Regions from separate parts of the Homo sapiens genome. Here region 2 is linked to region 1. The links are contacts of gene promoters, found by promoter capture Hi-C in human tissues and cell types (Jung and others, 2019). All regions are on one chromosome and are shown on one strand. Each heading gives the region's core, a stretch centred on a gene start or on the middle of the fragment in contact. The rest is flanking DNA. Distances are from core to core; before and after follow the strand shown.

The links. Contacts are between HindIII fragments. The study calls those that stand out against the background at their distance.
Region 2: the fragment with the promoter of SPDYC here is called in contact with the fragment with the promoter of MAP3K11 in region 1 in 1 of the 25 tissues and cell types used here (spleen).

What each region holds. Positions count from the first base shown.
Region 1 is chr11:65,612,275-65,617,646 of GRCh38, forward strand. It overlaps MAP3K11 (mitogen-activated protein kinase kinase kinase 11), which reads right to left and starts at 1,947. Exons shown (of 10, transcript NM_002419.4): 1 at 744-1,947. The coding sequence starts at 1,482. PCNX3 (pecanex 3) reads left to right here and starts at 3,502. Exons shown (of 35, transcript NM_032223.4): 1 at 3,502-4,190; 2 at 4,550-4,737; 3 at 4,976-5,075; 4 at 5,196-5,235; 5 at 5,337-5,372. The coding sequence starts at 4,038. RefSeq lists enhancers at 382-1,269, 1,987-2,416, 2,158-3,044, 2,927-2,976, 3,037-3,126 and 2 more and silencers at 1,557-1,736, 3,747-3,996. The HindIII fragment of the contact is 27,885 bases long and covers 1-5,372 here.
Region 2 is chr11:65,166,109-65,171,517 of GRCh38, forward strand. SPDYC (speedy/RINGO cell cycle regulator family member C) reads left to right here and starts at 4,125. Exons shown (of 7, transcript NM_001008778.3): 1 at 4,125-4,153; 2 at 5,219-5,391. The coding sequence starts at 5,250. The HindIII fragment of the contact is 3,474 bases long and covers 1,722-5,195 here.

The DNA of each region.
Region 1 (5,372 bases), core at 697-3,196:
TGTCGGGGGCTTGAAATGATGGGAGATGGAGTCTCCCTTAGCCCAGCACTCCCATCCCAAGCACTGATTTCAGGCTAGGCCCTCTTGGCGATCCAGCCCTCAAATGTCCATCTCCATGGCTGAGGACCCGCTGTGGGTTGGGGATCGCAGGTCGGGCTTGCCCAAGCTGTTGAGCTGTTTCACTCTCCCTTTTTACAGATTCTGAAATTGAGGCTCCGAGTTGGAGTAACCAGCTAGAGGTCATGAAGCCAGGGAGGGCTAGGCCAGAATTCCAGCCCTGGCCTTAGCCTTGACTGCCAAGGAGGGCTTCCCTCTCTGAGATATCTGTTCTGGAGGAGCTGCCCATGACGACGGGAGGGGAGGACAGAGCACCAACTCCACGAACATGAATTTAGGGGAGGAGAAGATGAGGAGCACGAGCTTCCAGAGGACTTCCTTGAGGTGGGAGCCATGGCTGGGCAGGATGCTTATGGCCCACCTGAGAGATACCAATTTCTTAACTTGTCCAAACCGCAGCTGCAGGCTGGGGTCAAGGACTTCTGAAGCTGGCGCAGGAAGACTCTGCTGGGTGCCTGGGGCTCTGTTTGGGGGCTAGCTTGAGCCCATGGGCACCCCTGGTCAGCTGGGACCCCCTAGGGTGGGAGCTCCTACCTGCAGTAGACCCTAAGCTAGGCTCAGTGGAAGGTTGGGAGCAGGTGTGTACCAGAGCCATGCCACCCCCAACCATGCCCCCAGAAACTCACTGTTGTTGGACTTGAGATCACGGTGGATGACGGGCACCAGGGCCTCGCAGTGCAGGTAGTGCATCCCACGGGCAATCTGCACAGCCCAGTTGACCAGCACATGGGGAGGCACGCGCCGCCCGGCCAGAGCTCGGCTGAGGGGCCCACCGGCTGCATACTCCATCACCAGGCACAGGTTGGGCTCCTCCAGGCACACAGCCTTGAGGGCAATGATGTTGGGGTGTGCCAGCATGGCGAAGAGCCGGGCCTCCTGGCGAACGCTCTCGGCTGTCACACTGATGTCCTCATCGGGGTCCTGGCGAGCTGCCTTCACAGCCACCAGCTCACCTCGCCAGCTGCCCCTGTACACCTTGCCAAAGCCTCCAATGCCGATCACCTCCTCCAGCCGCAGCTCCTGGAAGCTGGCCACCTCGCAGGGGGGCGGGCCGCCACCCCGAGACACATAGTTGGACGGGAAGATGCCCACCTGGCCACCCACCTGGCCCGCCCACCAGCCCTCGTCTCCTGAGATGGCTGCGTCCCGGGACAGCACCTCCACACGGTCACCCTTCCTCAGGGCCAGCTCATCCTGCCCACTGGGCTCGTAGTCGAACAGGGCTGTCCACACCGGGTTGGCATAACCCGCTGCCTTTGGAGACCCCTCAGGCCGGCCTCCTCCACCGCCCCCACCACCCCCGCTGCCACTGCCATTCCATGACCCTAGAGGGCTCTTGAGGAAGAGGCTCTTCAAGGGCTCCATGGCCGGGAGCCGGCGCTGGGATGTGTGGAGGACCTTCTCTGGGTGCCCGTGGTCCCCACCCCCGCTGGCTGCCAAGGCCCTAGTCCCGGAACCTGGGCATCCGGGCCCTGGCCCTCAGCCCCAGACCCACGCCTCTCTGGGGAGCCAGGAGTGTTGTCTCCCGGCCCCCCGCATCTCGGGCTTCTGGAGGAGGGCACCCAGGGCAGTGTGGTCAGGCCGGGGGGGTGGGGCCCCGGGGCCTCCGGCGCCTCACCATGGCTAGCTTGGAGGGACCCGAGCTTCCCTCGGTTCTGGAGCAGTCCTGGGAGCCTGGCTCCGGCCCCCGCCAAGTGTAAGGTGGGGCCTTCAGGGGCAGCGCCTCAACTCCGGTTGGGTCTTTTTGCGCAGGGGGTGGAGGGAGCGTCCGCAGTTGGGCCGAGACTGCCTGTTCCTGGCCCCGTCTCCTTTGGCCCCGACGGCTCCGACCCCGCTCCCTTCTTCCTCCTCCCTTTGTACTTTGGCCCCGGGGGCGGGAGGCAGAGGTGGAGGGTGGAGTTTCACTTTTTTCCGCTCTTCTCCCTCCTGCAGGAAACAGCATCAGATGACGCGGGCGGCCTGCACCGCTCCCCTCCCAGAGGCTCCAGGCGGGGAGTTCCCGGGTAGGCGGGCCAGGAGAGGCAGAGAGGGAAAGGGCAGAACCAGATCCCCCATCACAGCAGGCTTTTGAGATCTAGAAAGAAAAGCCCCCAGCTGCGTGCTCTGCTGCCTAGGGTGGAGGTTGGTCTCTGCTAAGGATGGGCCATCTCTGCCCTCTGCATCCGCATCGGCGGCAGCAAAACGGGGTTACAGAACCACACTTGGGAAGGGGGTGAACCCGAGTCTGGTCTTGGCTGCGAAGTTGTGGGACTGTGCGATCCATCGATTCTGAGCCTCATTATTTTCTTTCTTTTTTCTTCTTTTGAGACGGAGTCTTGCTCTGTCGCCCAGGCTGGTATGCAATGGCGCAGTCTAAGCTCACTGCAACCTCCGCCTCCCGGGTTCAAGAGATTCTCCTGCCTCAGCCTCCCGAGTAGCTGGGACTACCGGCGCGTGGCACCACGGCCGGCTAATTTTTGTATTTTTAGTGGAGACGGGTTTCACCATGTTGGCCATGCTGGTCTCAAACCCCTGACCTCGTGATCCTCCCGCCTCGGCCTCCCAAAGTGTTGGGATTACAGGCGTGAGCCACCGCGCCCGGCCATTCTTTTCATATATGATATGAGGACGAGAAAGCTCTGCCTCGTAGAGCTAGTTGGATGGGGTGGGGAAGACTGGAGGACAGACGGAACTGGCTGCACCTCAAGCTCTTGGAGTGGATTGCCTAAGGCTCTCTTCTTCTCCTCACCTGGGAAACAATCCGCTTCTTCATATCCCTTCCCCATTGGCAGAAACCTGAGACTTGTCCAGAACTTTGCCCAGGATTGGATTCAGAATAGCTGAGTCGCCCTCACAACTTCTGGATAGGGCTGCCCCAATTGCTTTGAGCCTGTCACTTTAAGAAAGACGACGCTATCCTATTTCGACTATTCCTGCCTGTTACGGAAGGTTGTTCTCTACACCCTAGGTCTGAGCTCTGACCCGGAAGTAGACGCCGCTGGGAGCGAAATCGGTCGTGACGTACGAGGTCCAGCATTAAAGGGGGCGGGCCGAGAGGGGCGTGCTTCGGTAGTGCAGAACTCTCGCTGCTACTAGGGGAGTCCACGCCTCCACCTTTTCCCCGCCTCCTGTAACTCATTGGAAGAGCTGTGCGCCAATTACTTTGCCGTTACCCAATGGCTACTCAACTGTCTCTTTGGTTCCGCCCAGTCGTCTACCCTGGGTTGGCAACGCCTGGGTCTACGCATGCGCCCAAACGCTTTTACGCTCGAACTTGCTTTAGTCCTGGAGTCTGCGCACGCCCAAAGGGCACCCCTCGCGTCCTACCGCGCCATCACCTTTCTGCGCTTGCGCATTCATGCCGTCAAGTTTTCCTTTTCCGGGTCCCAATTGGAATCGTTGGGCGCATGCGCCACTGCAGGCTGGCGGTTCGCGGCTCCTTCTTCCGGCCTCCTCCTTAGGCCGGCACCAGCAGAAGCCGGGCGAGCGCGGAGCCCCAAGCAAGTGACCTGCGACCCCGAAAGTGGACCCCAGATCCTGGGGTTCTCCCTGGTCCGGAGACTAGGGAGCTGTCGCCTGCACCCCGGGAGCACCCACCCCACGACCACCTCTGGATGCCGCCGACGGGTACCCGGCCCGTGCCCCGCGCCTGCCTGCCGGCTCGGCCCCTCGGAGCAATTCTGGGCCAGGAGTGGGGACCCGGACCCCGCCCCTGATGCAGCCCCACCCCCGCGTCCGGGCCTTGCACCACTGACTGTCCCGGCCGGCCCCGCCCCCTGCTCGCACCCTCGCGCGGCCGAGCCCCCCTCCCCCGCTGGGGGAGGCCATGGCGTGAGCGTGAGGCCGGGCCCCGGGGCCCTCAGGCGCCAGACGGGGCATGGGCCGGGGGCCGCCCCCATGAGGGTCCCGGGAGGGGGGGCGCGGGCAGCAGCGGCGGGGCCATGGGGTCGCAGGTGTTGCAGATCCTGCGCCAGGGGGTGTGGGCCTCGCTCACCGGCGGTTGGTTCTTCGACCCGCACCAGAGCACCTTCTCCAACTGCTTCCACCTCTATGTCTGGATCTTCCTGCTCATCTTTCCCTTCTTACTGTACATGGTGAGACGCCACGGCCACCTGTAACTCCAGCCGGGAGAGGGAGGGCAGCCTGGCAGGGATTCAGGGCAGTGCCCTGGGCTCTGGGACGTGGAGAGAGAGGAATCACTGCAGAGTTTGGGTCTGTGTGGAAGAGGGGCCAAAGTCTTCCTTTCTTGGATCGAGTGACCTTGAACCCTACACTTAATCTCATCCAGCTAAGCAGAATACAGAGCCCTTTGTCGAGGTCTGTGTACTGGTTGTGTGGAGAGGTGATGAAATTTTCTTGTGAGTCTGTGAATCCCAGCTATGATGTTGATGGCAGGTACATCCTGTGGGGGCGAGGCTTTGTGAAAAGGGACCTGGCTTACTTTCATCTTCAGGTCCTGCCTCCCAGCTTGATGGTGGCCGGCGTGTACTGCCTCGTGGTGGCTGTCATCTTTGCTACTATCAAGACTGTCAATTATCGGCTTCATGCCATGTTTGACCAGGGCGAGATCGTGGAGAAGCGCAGCTCTACCATGGGGGAGCTGGAGGAAGAGCCTGCCCAGGGGGACAGCAATCCACCCAGGTGGGTGGGGTAGGGGCTGTGCTGGGGATTGAGGGTTTTTGGTGCCTGGGCCGGAACCTTGCAGGGTGGAGTAGGGGCTTAGGGAACATTGGCTCTCTGAGTGATTGTGAACACTTGTCCTGTGTTAGCCCTGGAATTGTAAAGTGACTTCTGAAAAAGAAGCAGTGACAAAGATGGGAGGAAGTAGCATACACAGAGGAGAGGTTAGCTCAAAGCTGCTGCTCTTTTTCACCGCCAGGGACCCCGGAGTGGAGATGACAGTGTTCCGGAAAGTCAGTTCCACACCCCCGGTGCGCTGCAGCTCCCAGCACTCTGTGTTTGGCTTCAACCAGGTCTCGGTGAGTGGGCCTGGACCTCAGCTTGTCCTCCTGTCCCTCTGCGAGCCAGTCCCTACTGTGGGTGCATCCTGAGCCTACTTCTTGCCTTGTTTGTTCCTTCATGGCTCTCTGTCTACTCAGGAGCTGCTGCCCCGAATGGAGGACTCTGGGCCCCTTAGAGGTAGGTGGCTGCTCTTCAGGGTTGGAGCATAGTGCTGTGGAACAGGGGCTGGCGTGCTGTGCCAGGGGGTCCTGCTGACACCTCTGGGGCCATGGTTGCAGACATCAAGGAGCTGGTGCGGGAGCAGGGCAGCAACA
Region 2 (5,409 bases), core at 2,875-5,374, 440 kb before region 1:
GGTTTTGGCAGCGTTTTATTTTTCCTTTCTTGTTGTCTGGGGCTGTGTGGACAGCAAAAGTTGGCGGATGGGGACCCAGGCAGCCCCTTGGGCCTCAGGACCCGGAAGTCCCCCTGGCTGGCTTGTGACTTTTTAAGATGGAGTTCAGTTCATCAGCGTGACAGCTTTTCTTATTTTCTAACACGCGCGTTTGAGGTCATAAATTCCTCTCTAAGAATTACTAGTTGTGTCCTCCAACTTTGACAGACAATATTTTCTTTCTTTCTTTTTCTTTTTCTTTTTCTTTTTTTTTTTTTTTTTTTTTTTTTTTTTTTTTTTTGAGACGGAGTCTTGCTCTGTTACCCAGGCTGGAGCAGTGGCGCGACCTCCGCTCACTGCAACCTCCGCCTCCCGGGTTCACGCCATTCTCTTGCCTCACCCACCTGAGTAGTTGGGACTACAGGCGCCCGCCACCACGCCCGGCTTTTTGTATTTTCAGTAGAAACGGGGTTTCACTATGTTGGCCAGACTGGTCGCTAACTCCTGACCTTGTGATCCGCCTGCTTCGGCCTCCCAAAGTGCTGGGATTATCGGCGTGAGCCACCTCGCCCGGGTACATTTGATTAATTTTTAGGAAGATGTTCTGTGCGTGCTTTCCTGCCTTTGTTGGGTGCAGTGCCAGCTTATTCGTCCACTAGGTCAAATTTCTTCATCATATTCTTCATATCTTTTACTGCTTTGCTAACTTTTTTGCCTTGCATGTGCCATCATATCTACAATTATGATTGTGATTTGTTTTTCCGTGTGGTTCTGTTGATTTTACACACACACACACACAGACACACACACATGCGGTTTCTTGCTTATTGACTTTATTTTTAGGAGTAAACAAATTACTATATATTTTTTTCTTTACCTGGATTCTGGTTAGGTAATTATACACTTTTTTTTCTTCCTTCCTTCCCTCCCTCCCTTCTTTCTTTCTTCTCCTTCCTTTTTCCTTTTATTTTTCTCTTCCTGCCTCTTTCCTTTCCTTTATTTTCCCTCCCCTCCTTCCCCTCCTCTTCTTACCGACAGGATCTCCCTATGTTGCCCAGACCAGCACTACAGGTGCACACCACCACATCCGGCTGTATATTTTTAAAATCACTACATAAATTCTCTTTCTCCCTAGTTATGCTTTTTGTCCAAAGTTGTGTTTTTTTGTTTGTTTTTTGTTTTTTTTTTTTTTTGAGACAAGTTCTCACTCTGTCACCCAGGCTGGAGTGCAGTGGTACAATCTTGGCTCACCAAAACCTCTGCCTTCTAGGCTCAAGCGATTCTCCTGCCACAGCCTCCCAAGTAGCTGGGATTACAGGCATTCGCCACTACCACCCACCTAATTTTTGTATTTTTAGTAGAAATGGAATTTCACCATGTTGGCCAGGCTGGTCTTGAACTCCTGACCTCAAATGATCTACCTGCCTCGGCCTCCCAACGTGCTGGGATTACAGGCATAAGCCACCGCGCCCGGCCTAAAGTTGTTTTAATATATTAGTGTAGTTATCCCAGCTTTCTTTTAGTAATTGCATATTATTTTTTCTATCTTTATATTTTGAAATTTTTAATATTCTTATTTATTTATTTATTCATGTTTTAGAGACAGGGTCTTGCTGTGTCACCCAGGCTGGGTAGAATGGCATGATAATAGCTCACTGCAGCCTTGAACTCCTGGGCTCAAGTGATCCTCCCACCTCAGCCTCTTGAGTAGATAGGACTGCAGTCACGTGCCACCATGCCAGGCTAGTTTATTTTTGGTAGAGATGGGGCCTTGATGTATTGCCCAGGTTAGTCTCTAACTCCTGAACTCAAATGATCCTCCTGTCTCGGCCTCCAAAAAGTGCTGAGATTATAGGCGTGAGCCAATGGACCTGGCCATATATATATTTTTTGAGCTGGTAGTATGTTATTATGTTTTATGTGTATTCTTTTATATCCTTTTACGTGTATCCTTTATAGCATGCAATATTAATATATGATTTTACAAATTATATATACATTTACATGAATATAAATTTTATAAATAGTATATTAGTTAGCATAGAATAAATTTTGCTGTGATAATTGTAGCAGGCAGAATAATGGACTCCCAAAGATGGCTACATTTCACTTCCCAGACCTGAGAATATGTTATCTCACATGGCAAAAAAGACTTTGCAGATGGTTAAGGATCTTTTTTTGAGACCAAGTCTTGCTCTGTTGCCCAGACTGGAGTGCAATGGCATGATCTCAGCTCACTGCAACCTCCACCCCCAGGGCTCAAGCAATTCTCCTGCCTCAGCCTCCCGAGTAGTTAGGATTACAGGCATGCACCACCATGCCCCGCTAATTTTTGTATTTTTAGTAGAGGAGGGGTTTTGCCATGTTTACCAGGCTGGTCTTGAACTCCTGACCTCAGGTGATCTGCTCTCCTCTGCCTCCCACAATGCTGGGATTACAGGGGTAAGCCACCTCTCCCAGCCAAGTTAAGGATCTTGAGATGGGGAGATTATCTGGGCAGATTGAAGAGCCCAGTGAATCATGGGATTCTGAAAAGTGAAAGAGAAAGGCTGGGCATGGTGGCTCATGCCTGTAATCCCAGCATTCTGGGAGGCCAAGGCGGGTGGATCATGAGGTCAGGAGAACAAAACAAAACAAAAAAATTGCCAGGCATGGCGGCACATGCCTGTAGTCCCAGCTACTCGGGAGGCTGAGGCAGGAGAATTGCTTGAGCCCTGGAGGTGGAAGTTGCAGGGAGCCGGGATTGGGCCACTGCACTCCGGCCTGGGCAACACAGCGAGACTCCGTCTCAAAAAAAAAAAAAAAAAAAGTAAAAACAAATATTCTCCCCAGTGTGGGAGATCGGTGTCAGATCTCCAGGGGTGGCACTGAAGGAAATCAGCCTGAAGGCCCTCCCAAAGTTAAAGTGACTAGCCCACTCCCAGGCTTCTTTTTGGTACACCTTCCTGATCTCTAACCTTAATTACTGGGGGAGGAGGAGAACAGTTGAAAACACAGCTGGTCTAGGAGATTCATTCGGTTTCATGGAACACCTTCTCTGTGCAGGCAGCGTCCAGGAACAGCTGTAGACCACACAGCCAGGCTACCCAGCGTGTGGGCCCAGCAGCCAGGCTGGAACTCTATCTCTACTTACCAGCTGAGTGGCTGGCAGGAAGTTACTCAGCCTGTCGGTCAGCAACCCAAACTCTGTGTGTTAGTTGTTTGTTCGCTGACAAAATGAGGCTTCTCATCATTCTCATCAACTTCACGGGCTTGCTGTGAGGAACACGTGAGCTGATTCCATCACAGACTCCTCAGTAGGCAGCAGTAGGTGTTTAGTGAACGGGCTATGGATGCTGCCCCACTCACTACTTCCTTTCTAGGGGAGGCCGACTTCAAATGCGTGCACACACACAAACAGGATGGCCTGATGCAGACCAGCTGGTCTAGAAAGGCCTTCACGGCCTCAGGGAGCCTGGGAGGCGGCCTGGGGGAGACCATGAAACAGCAGATACACCAGAGACCAGAGATCAGAGAGAAAACAAAGGACCCAGAGATCCACAGACATCCAGACACCAGAGGCAACAAGAAACTGAGAGACTCAGAGGCCCACTGAGACCCAGGCAGCTTGTTCTGTGTTACGAGGGGAAAAATAAAATAAGAAACAAAAGAGAGACTCGGGGGGCCTCAGTGAAACCTAGAGACTCAAGGAGGCCAGGAGATTCAGAGACACCCATAGAGAGCCAGAGACCCTGCCCTAGCAAGGCACAATCAATGAAAAAAAACTCGCCCACCAGGCCCTCGCAGTCCGGGTCTCATATCCCGGCTCAGCACCTTGGCGCTGCATTTGTCAAGAGGGGAACAGGGATCCTAGCTCCCTGCCTGTCCTATGGGGCCTTAGGCCCTGGGGTCCAGCTGGCCTGCCTTCACCCCTCTTGTAGTTGATGAAGCTTTGGAGAGGCTTTCAAACCCTGGGGAGCCACAGCTGGGTGCCGACTGGACTCACTGGCAGAGAGGCAGGCGGTGAAGGCCAAGCCTCGCCCCCCAGGAAGGCCCTGATTGGTGGACGGGCTGCTTTGGGCAGGGCCGCCCTCAGGCTATATAAGCGCACTCGCGGCGGCGTTGGTGTTATGCTCTGGGCCATTCCTGAGCTCGGGTAAGGCTCGCTGCAGGAGGAGGCTGGGTTGCTTGCGGGCGCCTAGATGGAGGGGCCCAGATTGGCCCTGGGGTGGTCGACCGCACGTTCTCCTCGGCCCCGTGGTTGGCTTCTCTCTCTCAGGGATGAGGGTGGGTTTAGGACGGGAGCTTGAAATGTTTGAAGTGGCCCCATCAACTTGCTCTAAATCCAGGTATTTTTCTAATTTCATTCCTCCCTGAGGGCCTCAGTTTCCCCTCGGTGTAAGGGATCAGTGGCCCTTTCAACTCTGCTTTGGTGAGGGGTCGGGGGTGGTTGTGAGTTGGGGCCTAGAGGAGCAGTTAAACTCTTGGGTTTTTTTTTTCTTTTTTTTTGGCCAGGCGCAGTGGCTCACGCCTGCAATCCCAGCACTTTGGGAGGTCAGGAGTGTGAGACCAGCCTGGCCAACACGGTGAAACCCTGTCTCTACCAAAAAAATACAAAAAAAATTAGCCGGGCGTGGTGGCATGGCGCATGCCTGTAATCCCAGCTACTCGGGAGGCTCAGGCTGGAGAATCAGTTGAACCCGGGAGGCGGAGGTTGCAGTGAGCCGAGATCGCGCCACTGCACTCCAGTCTGGGCGACAGAGAGAGACTGTGTCTCAAAACAAACAAACAAAAACCAAAAAACCTCTTGGGGTTTTGGAGACCAAGGGCTTCACTTTTAACCGGCTGTTAGGCCTCAGCTTCAGTTTCCTCGTTTGACGACCGGTCTGAGTTAAACTTACCTCCTTACCAGGATGGAATAAGATAAGGCCCTTAAGCACAGCCCCAGGCACTTAGGAAGCCCTCAGCGGTGCTTGTTGCTGCTGTTACTCTGGCCTGTCCTGGGGTGCCAGGAGGAGGGTGAGGGTGCCACACCCTCACCTATAGCAACTCTTTGCTTCTTTTCTGGCCTCCCCACTCTTGTTGCATCCCGGCTGCCTTCTGTTCTGAGCCCCCAAGTCTCTGCACCCACCCCTCCACCGTCCTGGCCCCTGTCACCACCCTCTTGATTTGTGAGCATCACGGGGGTACATGCTAAGTCCTGAGCCTCCTTTCTCTACAGGTCACCCTGCCCCATCTCCATCTCCTATGAGATGAGTGACTCCCAAGACCCCACCACTTCCCCTGTAGTTACCACCCAGGTAGAGCTGGGGGGCTGCAGCCGGCAAGGTGGGGGCAATGGGTTCCTCCGTTTTCGCCAGCACCAGGAGGTCCAGGCCTTCCTCAGCCTTCTGGGTGAGTTTGGAGGGCTGG